Regions from separate parts of the Homo sapiens genome. Here region 1 is linked to region 2. The links are contacts of gene promoters, found by promoter capture Hi-C in human tissues and cell types (Jung and others, 2019). All regions are on one chromosome and are shown on one strand. The core of a region is centred on a gene start or on the middle of the fragment in contact, and the rest is flanking DNA. Distances in the headings are between cores, read along the strand shown. Region 1 overlaps ARHGEF4 (Rho guanine nucleotide exchange factor 4). Region 2 holds the start of GPR148 (G protein-coupled receptor 148).

What was found. Contacts are between HindIII fragments. The study calls those that stand out against the background at their distance.
Region 1: a fragment that was not itself captured here is called in contact with the fragment with the promoter of GPR148 in region 2 in 3 of the 25 tissues and cell types used here (H1 embryonic stem cells, bladder and dorsolateral prefrontal cortex).

What each region holds. Positions count from the first base shown.
Region 1 is chr2:131,002,113-131,008,888 of GRCh38, forward strand. All of the region lies in intron 4 of ARHGEF4 (Rho guanine nucleotide exchange factor 4), which reads left to right. Among named protein-coding and RNA genes, the nearest start is that of SMIM39, 30 kb to the right of the region's middle. The HindIII fragment of the contact is 6,362 bases long and covers 1-5,743 here.
Region 2 is chr2:130,723,342-130,730,319 of GRCh38, forward strand. GPR148 (G protein-coupled receptor 148) reads left to right here and starts at 5,729. Exons shown (of 1, transcript NM_207364.2): 1 at 5,729-6,978. The coding sequence starts at 5,811. The coding sequence ends at 6,854. RefSeq lists enhancers at 3,451-3,978, 4,300-4,879, 4,880-5,458 and a silencer at 4,362-4,531. The HindIII fragment of the contact is 13,856 bases long and covers 568-6,978 here.

The sequences.
Region 1 (6,776 bases), core at 1,313-3,812, 280 kb after region 2:
CTGTTCTGGATGCTTGGAGTACAGTGGTAAACAAGGTGCACGCAATGCCCTGTCTTCATGGAGCTTGCCGACTTTAAAATGTTTAAAAATTTAAAAGCTTTAATGCTCAAAATAATTTTTGAAAAGATTAATATGTAGCTAATCTCTTTACTCCTGGAATTAGACACTTAAAAAGCTGTGAGGGGCCGGGCGCGGTGGCTCATGCCTGTAATCCCAGCACTTTGGGAGGCCGAGGCAGGCAGATCACGAGGTCAGGAGATCGAGACCATCCTGGCTAACACGGTGAAACCCCATCTACTAAAAATACAAAAAAATTAGCTGGGCGTAGTGGCTCACGCCTGTAATTCCAGCACTTTGGGAGGCCGAGGCGGGCGGATCACGAGGTCAGGAGATCGAGACCGTCCTGGCTAACACAGTGAAACCCCATCTCTACTAAAAATACAAAAAATTAGCTGGGCGTGTTGGCAGGCACCTGTAGTCCTAGCTACTTCAGAGGCTGAAGCAGGAGAATGTCGTGAACCCGGGAGGCGGAGCTTGCAGTGAGCCGAGATCGCACCACTGCACTCCAGCCTGGGCGACAGAGCGAGACTCCGTCTCAAAAAAAAAAAAAAAAAAAAAAAAAAAAAAAAGGGTTGTGGGGGCTGGGGGTGAAGGAGAGCTCACTGCTCTTTGTAAAATCAGCCTCCGCTGCTGGAACGGACAGTCTGAATGAACTGTTGGTCGGCTTCCTATATTAGTTTTTCAACATTGTTGGTTTACACTTCTGAGTTCATAGAATGAGCACCCTAGCCCTATGGTTTTGTAAGTAGTCACCTAAAGGGAACTGTTTTAATGAATAAACAGGGATGGCTTTTAATTACTACATTTGCTGAATAGATATTTTTGCACCCCAACTTTGTGCAAGACACTAGGATAGGGACTGTTCGGACAAGAGGGCAACAAGCAAAGATCCCTGCTCTGGGAGGTCCCGCAGTGCCTCTGGTATGAACAGCGTTAGTAACAGTGACCTTGACGATGGGGCATTCGCTGTTCTACCTCAGGCATCAACTCTCTAAAGCACTGAGCCATGACGAGGCCAGGGGAATGGAGGACCATCCCGCACGCACTCTGTACCCAGAGGTCCAGGTCATGCCGTAAGACACACCCCCTCTGCACCTCAGTTCCTGATTTATAAAACAATGGCCATTCCTGTTCCACACTGTTTCTGTATGAAGTGAAATGATCTACATGAATGCTCCTGGCACATGATGACCACTCAGTGGATTCCAGTTTCTTCCTTCTTGATCGTGACACGCATCTCTCGTCATTTCTGCAGTATTCCCTGAAGCTTCTTTAAGCAGAGTTCTGGCCAAGGCAGAGACCCTTAGTAAGCACCAGTTGATGGGAAGGCACAATTCACTGGGTCCCTAGATGCACCAGGCTGAGTTGCCTGTGGACAGGTGGGTGAAAATCTGGAAGCTTCTCTGTCCATACTTGCCTGTCAATGAGGAAGAAGATGGCCCCGCAGTACGTGAGGTCAGCCTGAGTGACACTCCTGTTAAGATAGGGATAATCCTTTCTGATCTCTCATTTAGTCTGCCTTGCTTTGGATAGTATGTGATGGCAGTTGCTAGACCGAGCCTGAAATGCAGAAATGCCAGGGCAAAGATGACATCTGACAACATAGCCTAGATATGTCAGTCAGCTAATGACTTCAGATCAGTCTTCTGGGAAGTAGGCTTTTCTGAAATCGATGGGCTTAATTAGAAAGAACTTAACTAGGGTAACTGGGTAATAACGACCTGGAAATATTTATACAGGGACCCTTCACAAGTTTTCACCGAAACAGGACTTTTAAAAAAATCCTAAGCCTTCAGCAGCCAAAGGAGCATCTTTGGTTGGGAGAGATGGGGATAGGAGGATCTTCACTCCCTACATAGAGCCCCTGCACACCCTGGGGACACCAGACCCACCTCTGGGAAAGATAAGAAAGGGAGGAAGCTGGGCCAGTGTGGTGCAGGCCTTCCATATGCCTATGGAATCAAGGAATCTCTGTTAGTTGGTGTGTTTTGTTTTGTTTTGGGGTTTTTTTGAGACGGAGTCTCACTCTGTCGCTCGGGCTGGAGTGCAATGGCACGATCTCGACTCACTGCAAGCTCCACCTCCAGGGTTCATGCCATTCTCCTGCCTCAGCTTCCCGAGTAGCTGGGACTACAGGCCCCCGCCACCATGCTTGTCTAATTTTTTGTATTTTTAGTAGAGACGGGGTTTAACCGTGTTAGCCAGGATGGTCTCAATCACCTGACTTCATGATCCCCCTGCCTTGGCCTCCCAAAGTGCTGGGATTACAGGCGTGAGCCACCGCACCCAGCCCTCTCTGTTTTTTAAACCACATTCGGAAGTATTTCACTCCCTAATTGTCTTTTCCTCAAAGTAAGGAGACAGCCACTGGGAGGTGAATGGGTGGCCAAGCCCACTTGGTGGCAGAGTGCGGCCCTCCTTGTCACACAGCCCGGCCTCGATGGTCCTTCCAGGCCTGACCCGGCCGTGAGCGCCTGCCATCCTCAGCCCTCTTTCTAGGGTGTGGTGTCTCTGTCCCACCCCGGCCTCACAGAACTCAGGTCCAGATCTCTGTGAATGATGGAGAGGATGAAGAATAGTCTGCCCTGGGGACACAACACACTTTGGCTGAACCCTTCTGGCAACCACATCTCTGCTGTTTTATTTACTCCAGTGTCTGGTGTGGGCAAATAGCTTGCAGGTGGCTTTGTGGCTGCCCCATGGCAGGTACAGGAGCAACCCCATTCCCTCCTCCAAAGTTTGGTTTGGATGTGGAGAAGGATAACACCACACACACACCAGGAGGGTGGGGAAAGCTTGTGGTTGGTGCCCTGGGGCTTTCTGTGAGAGCAGGGCAGACTGCAGCCCAGCTGGAACAGCTGCAGCAAAGGGGGCCCTGGGTGGCTGAGTATGGCTGAGGGCTGTATGGTGGTGAGGAGGGAGCCAGGGTGAGAGTCCTGCCACCCCTCGCCTGGGGTTTGCATTGATTTTGCAGTTATGGGGCAAGAGAGGAAGAGGATGGGGCTGGAAGCCATCCGCAGTCAGCAGTGGGCTGATATCTGTCACGCTCTGGGGGCAGAGCTGACTTGACTGTGTCCTGTGAGGGACACAGCAGCAGCCTGAAGAGGGCTCGGCCTCATTCCTCACATCCAGGTAGAAATCGGGAAGTGCAGCCAGGGTAAGCCCTCCCCGGTGAGCTACCGATGACATGGGGTGTCCCACACAGGGCTGCCCTCCAGCAGCAGGGCCCTCCCACAACAGCCACTCCCTGCCGTCCTCAGGCTCCCATGGGGCTCCAAGTCCCAGCTTTCTCCTGACATGGGAGACTGCCCAGTCCTGTTCTGTGTTGAAGTGCGCCTCTGGGGGTCATTTACTTGCATCTGAGATCTGTGAGTGAGATTTCTATATGTTAAGAAAAGCTGGGACCCTGGAGATGCTTCCCAGGCTGCCCTAGTCTTCCCAGTCCCAGGGGCTTGGCCACGTACCCCGCAGCGTGCAGAAGATGCAGGGGAGCTGGCCTGTGTCCTCAGGTGGGAGGGGAGGGGCGGGAGTGCCCAGCGCCCCAGGGGCCAGGCTGTGTGGGCACTGGGGGGAGATGCGCCGTGGACCACAGGGACCCGTGGTGCTGGGCAGCTTCCCGGCAAAAGGTCTGGAAGGTGTGTCTGTAGTAGACAGAATTCTCAGGATGCTCCCAAAACCTCTGCCCACTGGTTAGCCAGACACAAATCTAGGAACTTCCTGCAAGGGACTTTGCAGATAGGACTGAGGTTGCTAATGAGCTGACCTTAACATAGGGAGATAGTTCTGGATTATCTGGGTAGGTCCAGCATAATCATATGAGCCCTTAAAAGCAGCCGAAGAAGCCAGGAGAGGAGCTAAGAGAGATTGAAAGAGAAGGAACTCAACCCACCATTGTGGGGAGGAGACCTGTTCCCCGCCATTGGTCATCCTTGGAAGATGGTAATAGCCCCTGGGCATCACAAGGCAATTCAGCCACCCAGGGACCTCAGTCCGACAGCACTCTGGAACTACATCTGCCTGTAATCTGAATGAGACTGCGAGTTGATTCAGCCGCAGAGCCTCCAGAAAGGGACACAGCCGCGATGACACCTTAATTTAGGCTCTCTGTGACTCCAAGCAGAGAACCCACTGAGCCACACTGTGCCCAGCCCTTTGACCTACAGAAACAGATAACAAATGTATGTGCTGTTAAGCCTCTAAATGCAGGGTAATTTGTTTCAGCAGCAATAGGAAAATAATACATGCATCCCTGCCCGTGGGAGTCACATGGCCCAGGGCCTTAGCAGCGGCCCAGGAGCTGGCTGGCTGTCAGTCACTGAGAAGATGATGAGGGACTGTCAGCCATTAGGGAATGCCATCCAGGAGCCGTTTGTCTACTATTCACTAGTTAGGGAATGGGGAGCTAATTTGCATTTTAATGCTAGATTCTCACCATTTTCCCAAACAGGAAATCCTTCCAGAGTAGAATCTTAGCACTTACCTAGGCATCTTTTATGCTTTTGGGGTTCTGTGCCCTATCCCTCTGGTCTTGCCTGGACTGGGGAGTGGGACTGTTAAGCAAAGAGCAGATTAGGTGAGGCCACCCACCAAAGTACCAACACCTAGGTGCGGGGAGTTGGTCTGAAGAGAGGCTGAAAGACCAAGTCCAAGTCATGAAGGGAAGCAAAAGGCCAAGTCATTGGCTAAGTCCGAAGGATAAAATGGGGCCAAAAGTAGGCCAGGTGGTCCTGCTGAACACAGTTGGGTACTTGTAAGGGATTGGGAGGTGGACTGTAGGTAAAATTGGTCACCCTGTGGCTTAAGATTGAGGCAAGGCTGTCACAATGACATACATCTTCCACCAAAATACAAGGCATAGGGTGTAGGAAATTACAGTGAAATTGCAGAAGAAATTCTAATTGAAGGGATCCAGCAAAGAGTAAAGGCGTTTGTCATGGAGACTGCTGTGACATTAATTTATGGACCTACTATGTTCTCAGTCCTCTATGTGGAAGATGTCTTCACTCTAGATGGTGGGCACCATTATGATCCCTGACTGTCCCCAGCCTCTGTGTCTATTCCAAGGAGCCTCCAGCTTCTCTATCCTTGTGACTGGAGTCAGCCAGTGCTTAAGGGGAAAGTGGCCCAAATGCTGAATTTATGTCCCTGTCCTCTCCTCTCCTCCATCATAGCCCTGCAGTTTCCTCTTTCTTTAATATCTTTCTGGTACCTTCAAATAGATAGTTATTACTTTTTCACTCAAGTTTTTAAGCTCTCCTTACTTTTTATAGGCTAGGGTATTTTCCTCTTTTTTATTCATTCTTCACAGATATTATTTTAAAATATAAACGTGTTTGTTGCTTTTTCTGATTGTGAAGCTAATATATTCATCTTGGCAAATCCAACATAACAGAAAATAATTAGAGTTAAATTCACCTGAAATCCTACCATCCAAAAATAGATACTGTTAACTATTTCGTATGCAACCTTTTGTATATCTATGCCTTTTCATTGTTTGTCTTTTTATTATTTTTTCATAAATAAGATCACACTCTATATACTGGTTTGTAAGCTACTTTTTAATTTAATAATATGCTTTTAGTGACTTTAGTTTTGATAAATATAAAGCTAAATTATTCTTTTCTTTTCTTTTTTTTTTTTTTTTTTTTTTTTTTTTGGAGACAGAGTCTCGCCCTATCCCCCGGGCTGGAGTGCAATGGCACGATCTCAGCTCACTGCAACCTCCGCTTCCCAGGTTCAAGTGATTCTCATTGCCTCAGCCTCCCAAGTAGCTGTGATTACAGGCACCCACCACCCCGCCCAGCTAATTTTTGTATTTTTAGTAGAGACAGGGTTTCGCCATGTTGGCCAGGCTAGTCTCGAACTCCTGACCTCAGGTAATCCACCAGCCTCAGGCTCCCAAAGTGTCAAGATTACACGCATGAGCCACCACACCTGGCCCCTAAATTATTCTTTTGAATTGGCTACATGGTGTTTCATTATATAAATGTACCTTAATTTATTTTAGTAGTCCCCTAATAATGTTCAATTTGTTTGTCTGTAATATTTTTCTATTAGAATCAATGCTGGAATCAATATACTTGTAAATACATACTTGTGTGCTTTTCTGAGTACTTGTTTTCTTAGGATAAAACCCTAAAAATAGAACAATTGGATCAACATATTTGTTCTTTGTAAAACTTTTCTTGAAGTATAATACACATGCATAAAAGTGCACCAATAATAAATGTATGTTTTGATGAATTTTCACAAAGTAGATATTCTCATGCAACCAACATCCAGATCAAGAAATAGAACATTACCATCACAACAGTCTCTTTCTTTTAAATGGAGTATTTAGTCCATTAACTTTTAATGTGATTATTGATATAGTTGGGCTTACATTGGTCATTTTCCTCTTTTTTTGTCACATGTTCTTTGTGTTACTCCTTTTCTCCTTTTCTGTTTTGTTTTGGATTAATTGGATCTTTTTTAAAAAAATCCTATCTTTATTATTGGCTTATCACTATTCCTTTATGTTATTTTATAATGGTTGCTCTGAAGATTATTTTATATATACATGTGTATATATATATCTTTTCATAGTCTACTAAAAGTAATATTTACCACTTTATATAAAATGTAAGAATCTTGCATATGTATAATTTCATTTATCCCTTTCCTGTTTTATGGATAGAGCTGTCATTTATATGCTCATCTACATGTACTATAAGCCC
Region 2 (6,978 bases), core at 4,479-6,978:
CCCCCTTCTCCCACCCCATGACAGGCCCCAGTGTGTGGTGTTCCCCACCCTGTGTCCAAGTGTTCTCATTGTTCAATTCCCACCTATGAGTGAGAACATGCGGTGTTTGGTTTTCTGTCCTTGCGATAATTTGCTCAGAATGATGGTTTCCAGCTTCATCCATGTCCCTACAAAGGACATGAACTCATCCTTTTTTATGGCTGCATAGTATTCCATGGTGTATATGCGCCACATTTTCTTAATCCAGTCTATCATTGATGGACATTTGGGTTGAGTGTAAACATAACTTTTACATGGACTGAGAAACTAAAATTCATGTGACTTGCTTTCTTGTGATATTCACTTTATTGTGCTGGTATGGAACCAAACCTGCACTATCTCTGAGGTATGCCTGTATAAAGCAGGGAGCTGAGGTCCATTCTAAGCATCAGGAGACATTTTCCAGAAGAGTCATTCAAACTGAGATCTGGCTGAGCAGAAGTGAAATGTGCGAAGAGGGTAGCAATGTCCCCAGATAACAAAGGTTGTGCATTCTTTAACGAGTAGAAGGGGTGCAAGAGAGCTGGAGCACAGAGGATTGATGTGGGAGGGACAAGGGATAGTGATATAGTTTGGATGTTTGTCCCATCCAAATCTCATGGTGAAATGTGATTCTGAATGTTGAAGGTGGGGCCTGGTGGGAGGTAATTGGGTCCTGGGGCAGATCCCATGATTTGGCACCATCCTTTTGGTGGTAAGTGAGCTCTCACTCAGTTAGTTCATGTGAGATCTGGTTGTTTTAAAGTCTAGGACCTCCCCCCACACCTTGCTTCCACTCTCGCCATGTGACATGCCTTCTCCCCCTTTGCCTTCCACCATGACTGTAAGCATCCTGAGGCCCTCACCAGAAGAGGACACTGGTACCACACTTCCTGTACAGCCTGCAGAACTGTGAGCCAAAATGAAACTATTTTCTTTATAAATTACCCAGCCTCAGGTATTTCTTCATGGCAATGTAAGAATGTGCTAACACAGATGGGCTGCTGTAGGGCTTGTGCATTAAGACCAAGATTTTGGTTTTTATCTATCTTAAGAGTGATGAGAAATCAGTGGGGAGTTTGATTTAATATGGGATAATCACCATCACAACATGATATGATGGTGGTGATGATAATGGTGAAGAGGAGGATGATGATGGTGATGATGGTAGTGATGATGGTGCTGATGATAGTGATGTAATGATGGTGATGATGGTGCTGACAGTGATGATGGAGTTGATGATAGTGATGGTGATGATGATAATGATGGTGGTGATGGTGCTGATGATAGTGATGATGGTGTTGATGATAATGATGGTAATGAAGTGCTAATGATAGTGATGATGATGATGATGTTGACAGTGATGATGGTGCTGATGATAGTGATGATGATAATAGTGATGGATGGTGCTGATGAAGATAGTGATGATAATGATGGTGGTAATAACAAAAGTGGTGGTGATGATATGGCTGCTACGGTTTGGACGTGTTTCTTAAAGTTCATGTATTGGAAACTTAATCCCTAATGCAACAGTGTTGAGAGGTGAGACCTCTAAGTGGTGATTAGGTAATGGGGGCTCTTTCTTCATGAATGAATTAATGGTGTTATAATGGAAGTGAAAGTGGGTTAGTTATCTTGGGAGTGGGTTCTTGATAAAAGGATGAGTTTGGCCTCCTTCCCTTCTCTTTCTCACATGTGCTGTCTTGCCCTTCCACCTTCCATCATGGCATGACGAGCAAGAAGACCCTCACAAGACACTGGCACCTTGAACTTGAACTTCACAGCCTCAAAAACTGTAAGAAATAAATCTCTGTTTTTTATAAATTACCCAGTCTCAGGTATTCTGTTATAGTAGCATTAAACAGATCATGACAATGGTGATGGTGATGGTGGTAATGTGATGATGGTGATGGTGATGATGATGAGATAAGGGTGAGGGTGATGGTAATAGTGATGAAGACATGAAGATAATAAAGATATGTTGACTGATATTGATGGAGACTATGATAATGATGAAGAGTCCAGTACCAATGCCAGCCAGGAAGGTAGAGGTAGAAAGATCATCCAGGGAACAGATGGAGCGAGGATGGAAATAACACAGGATTTGGAGTGAGACATGCCTATTCTCTGCCACTTATTTGCTAGGTGGCCTTGGGAAAATTAATTGGCCTCATATGCATGTCAATTTCCTGATCCTCATCAGGGTTCTGGAGGATGAAAGGAAATGTAAAATGGTACCCAGAATTTGCCACGTCAGTTCTTTGTGTATTACCTCTGCCACACATGCATGTACCCAGGTGCAATGATGAGGGCCCGGGGGCGGGGGGGCTGGAGATTTTCTCTGCTCCTGCAGCTAGGTCAGGTGACATGGCCAGTTGCTGAGGGACATTGCATTGCTGCCAGGAAACCAAGAACCCCTGTTTAGATAATCCTTTTCAACCTGGCTGCCAGCTGCCTTTGGGAGCTGCTGTGTGATGGGAGGCCCAGCTGGGAGTCTCAGTCACCTCTGCCAGTGCCCACTGCCCACCCTCTGACTCCCCGAGCCTTGACCTGACACCACGGTGAGTAACTCCTGTCCTGCTGCCACCATTGGGGGCCATAGCAACAGGGTCTGCATGTCTCAGGAAAGAGAGCTTTTTTTTTTTTTTTTTTTTTTTTTTTATGGAGTTTTGCTCTTCTTGCCCAGACTGGAGTGCAATGGTGTGATCTTGGCTCACTGCAACCTTCGCCTCCTGGGTTCAAGAGATTCTCCTGCCTCAGCCTCCTGAGTAGCTGGGATTACAGGCATGTGCCACCACGCCCAGCTAATTTTTGTATTTTTAGTAGAGACAGGGTTTCTCCATGTTGATCAGGCTGGTTTCAAACTCCTGACCTCAGGTGATCTGCCTGTCTCGGCCTCCCAAAGTGCAAAGTGCTGGGATTACAGGCGTGAGCCACCGCTCCCCGCCAAAAGATGGCTTCTTACTAACACTGAACTCTCTCAAAAGGTGACCTTAGGCAGGGCACTTAACCTCCCTGGGCTTCAGTTTCCCACAGAGCAGCATGTCATTTCTGTGAGTGTGCTCAGTGCCTGCACAGAAGGTGCTCCACGATGAGGCTGTGGGTGGTCACTGTTACCTCATCTCAGCCGGAGGACCCAGGAGCATGTCCATTCTGTGGTTTAAACATGTTTGCATTAGGCACGCCTACAGCCTCAGTTTACCTCCACCTTCCTAGAGGGCAGGGACACTCCAGCATCCCCAGGCTCTTGAAGGGCCACGGATGGCTGAGATTCAACTTCCAAAGTTATGTTCAGATTCACTAGCCTGTGCTGCACACCCACCCCGCGTCTGCACCCAAGGCCAGCAGGCCCGTCCTGACCCATAATGATTACAGGAACGGGGCAAAGGAGTTAAAGGCTGCAGGGTCCTAACCAGGGAGGCCAGCTCTGTGACCCCAGAGCTGGCACTGGGTGACCCCACATCTGGGGTTGATTACAGTGTAGAAACTAAGGGTGGTTCTGAGAAAGCCCATCTTCCCTTTCGGAGAAACCGCGATGCCATAGGGCGGACCCCGCCTCCCTGTCCCCGCGCCCTGGGCTGCACTCCCTAGGGCCCCGGACTGCATTTTCCCAGGAGGGCAGCCTGGATAGGGAACCTCGGCAAGTGAGACCAAACTGATGTTCCCTTAGGGGCAGCACCCGCTCGGTGCTCTGAGATTGTTGTATGGGCTATTTAATTCCTAAGATGATTCTCAGCAGGAGGCAGGCTCTGTATCATCCCAGCGGCTTTTTCACCTTGGGAGTTTCGCGCTTTCCGATTCCATGAAGTTGCTGCTTGTCACCCCGTCACCGGCTATAAGGATTTAGCTCACAACCACATTTTTACTGAGGGATTGTCATTTAACGAGTTTCCCTCTCCCAGGGAATCTGCATTCTAAGACCCCAAAGGCCGGCGAGGGTCGTTGTGCTGGGCTGGACAGCAGAGAGAGGCTCGGCCTTGGCCCTCAGCCCTGCAGCACACAGGGCACCCGCGCAGAGAGCGTGGCCTGCGAATGGCTCTGCTGCCTCTCCCGGCCTGGGGCCGATTAGACCGGTCAGAGCATCTGTAAAGTACAAGGGGCCCCTAGGGAGTGCAGGCCAGGGCAGCTGGGGCAGGGAGGCGGGGTCCGCCCCATGGCATCGCGGTTTCTCTGGAAGGGGTGATGGGCTTTCTCAGAACCACCTTTAGTTTCTGTACCGTAATCGGCCAAAAAGGCGCAGGCGCTGCTGCTCCTGGCAGCTGCGTAACAGGCTCTCAGAGGAGGACGCGGTTCCGGGCTGCGGCGGGCGTGGTCCGGGGCTGTTCTGGGCGTGGTCTTTGGCTGTGATGGGCGTGGCCTTGGGCTATGGAGGGCGTGGTCCCAGGGCTGCGATGATGGTGGTCCGGGGCTGTGGTGGGCGTGGCCCCGGGCTGCGGCGGGCGTGGTCCCCGGGCTGCGGCGGACGTGGTCAGGGGCGGTTCTGGGCGTGGTCCCTGGGCTGCGGTGGACGTGGTCTCGGGCTGTGACGAGCATGGTCCCTGGGCAGCAGTGGACGTGGTCTCACACCCAGAGTCTGAAATTTCTGCCTCTTCCTGGCCCTAAAAATATCCTGCCTGTTCCCACGCGGCTCCTGCCTTCTGGAGCAGTCTGCCAGGCCGGCGGTGGGTGTTGGGCAGGGGTCTCAGGCTGCCAGCAGCCAAGTGCAGCCCGTTCTGCAGTGATGACAGGGATCTGTGGGCAGAGGGGACCGAGCCTCGGAGGATGCTGTAGGTGGGAGAGCTAACATTGACTCAGCATTTACTTCAGGCTATGCACTGTGCTGAGTCCCTTACCTCTGGGCTTCCGCAACGTTTCCCTGAGGTCAGTGTGGTTGGCATTCGTGTTTCACAGATAAGGAAACTGGAACAAAGCTTTTCAAGGCCACGCAGCCAACACCTCGAGAGAGCGGGAGAGCTTGTTCACTTGAACTGGATCCCCAAACACCAACAGCCACCCTGGCCACTGGCTCTGACTGAGCTCACCCCACCCCCGACAAGCCAGGTGCCTGGGGAACCTGCCTTCCATTCCTCCCCACTAGCTCCTATGAGGTCTCTGCCTGCCAGGCCTCCTCCTCCCCAGAGGAAGGGACGTTTCTACCACACAGCGACCCCACAAGTCAGCTGAGATTTTGGGGGCACCGAATACTCACATGGAGCCCTGAGTGGAAGGGGTGTAGGAGTCACACTCACACGCATGCACAGGGTCACCCTGAGCTGGAGACCATACCCAAGGCTCTGTGAGGAAATGTGAGTGCGCCCAGGCCCCTCCAGCCTGGTCCAATTTGCTGAGCCTCTAGCTCGACAGAGGTCAGACCAGGTCTACAGCCCAGCGATCCTAGTTCCAGACAGCTGCTCCTTCCTTTCTAGGAGGGCAGCCCGGAATATAATCCAGTGTGGTGAGAATCCATTGCACACTCCCTGTGAGCCAAGCAGACAGGTTTGGGGGCCACTGAGATAGGGGACACTTCTGGAGGGGTCAGTGACTGCAAAATGGTGGCAGTGGGATGATCTGTTATGTCTACCCACGCACATGCAGCTGCACAGTTGCAGAGATGTGAATGCAGGAAGCCAGGTGTGAGTCTGAATTCACATTGGTTTTTTTATCTTTATTAAGCAGTCATTCCTAAGGCCTGCCCGAGCCTGGCATCTCTACAGAGGAGTGGTGCCATCAGGACCCCTGTGGGGCAGATCAACACTCAAGGCAGGTGCAGAATCAACAACCTGTGACAAAGCCAGCCATCCCTGCCAGGAAGCATGGGGGATGAGCTGGCACCTTGCCCTGTGGGCACTACAGCTTGGCCGGCCCTGATCCAGCTCATCAGCAAGACACCCTGCATGCCCCAAGCAGCCAGCAACACTTCCTTGGGCCTGGGGGACCTCAGGGTGCCCAGCTCCATGCTGTACTGGCTTTTCCTTCCCTCAAGCCTGCTGGCTGCAGCCACACTGGCTGTCAGCCCCCTGCTGCTGGTGACCATCCTGCGGAACCAACGGCTGCGACAGGAGCCCCACTACCTGCTCCCGGCTAACATCCTGCTCTCAGACCTGGCCTACATTCTCCTCCACATGCTCATCTCCTCCAGCAGCCTGGGTGGCTGGGAGCTGGGCCGCATGGCCTGTGGCATTCTCACTGATGCTGTCTTCGCCGCCTGCACCAGCACCATCCTGTCCTTCACCGCCATTGTGCTGCACACCTACCTGGCAGTCATCCATCCACTGCGCTACCTCTCCTTCATGTCCCATGGGGCTGCCTGGAAGGCAGTGGCCCTCATCTGGCTGGTGGCCTGCTGCTTCCCCACATTCCTTATTTGGCTCAGCAAGTGGCAGGATGCCCAGCTGGAGGAGCAAGGAGCTTCATACATCCTACCACCAAGCATGGGCACCCAGCCGGGATGTGGCCTCCTGGTCATTGTTACCTACACCTCCATTCTGTGCGTTCTGTTCCTCTGCACAGCTCTCATTGCCAACTGTTTCTGGAGGATCTATGCAGAGGCCAAGACTTCAGGCATCTGGGGGCAGGGCTATTCCCGGGCCAGGGGCACCCTGCTGATCCACTCAGTGCTGATCACATTGTACGTGAGCACAGGGGTGGTGTTCTCCCTGGACATGGTGCTGACCAGGTACCACCACATTGACTCTGGGACTCACACATGGCTCCTGGCAGCTAACAGTGAGGTACTCATGATGCTTCCCCGTGCCATGCTCACATACCTGTACCTGCTCCGCTACCGGCAGCTGTTGGGCATGGTCCGGGGCCACCTCCCATCCAGGAGGCACCAGGCCATCTTTACCATTTCCTAGAGTTCTTGAGTCCACAGTCTGGCAAGCTGAGGTTAAAAATCATATGTTGAATGCAGCAGTGTCCACTTATGACTAACTTCTTAGAACAGCACAATATAATAGTGGAATTGGGCCTTTCAGAAGA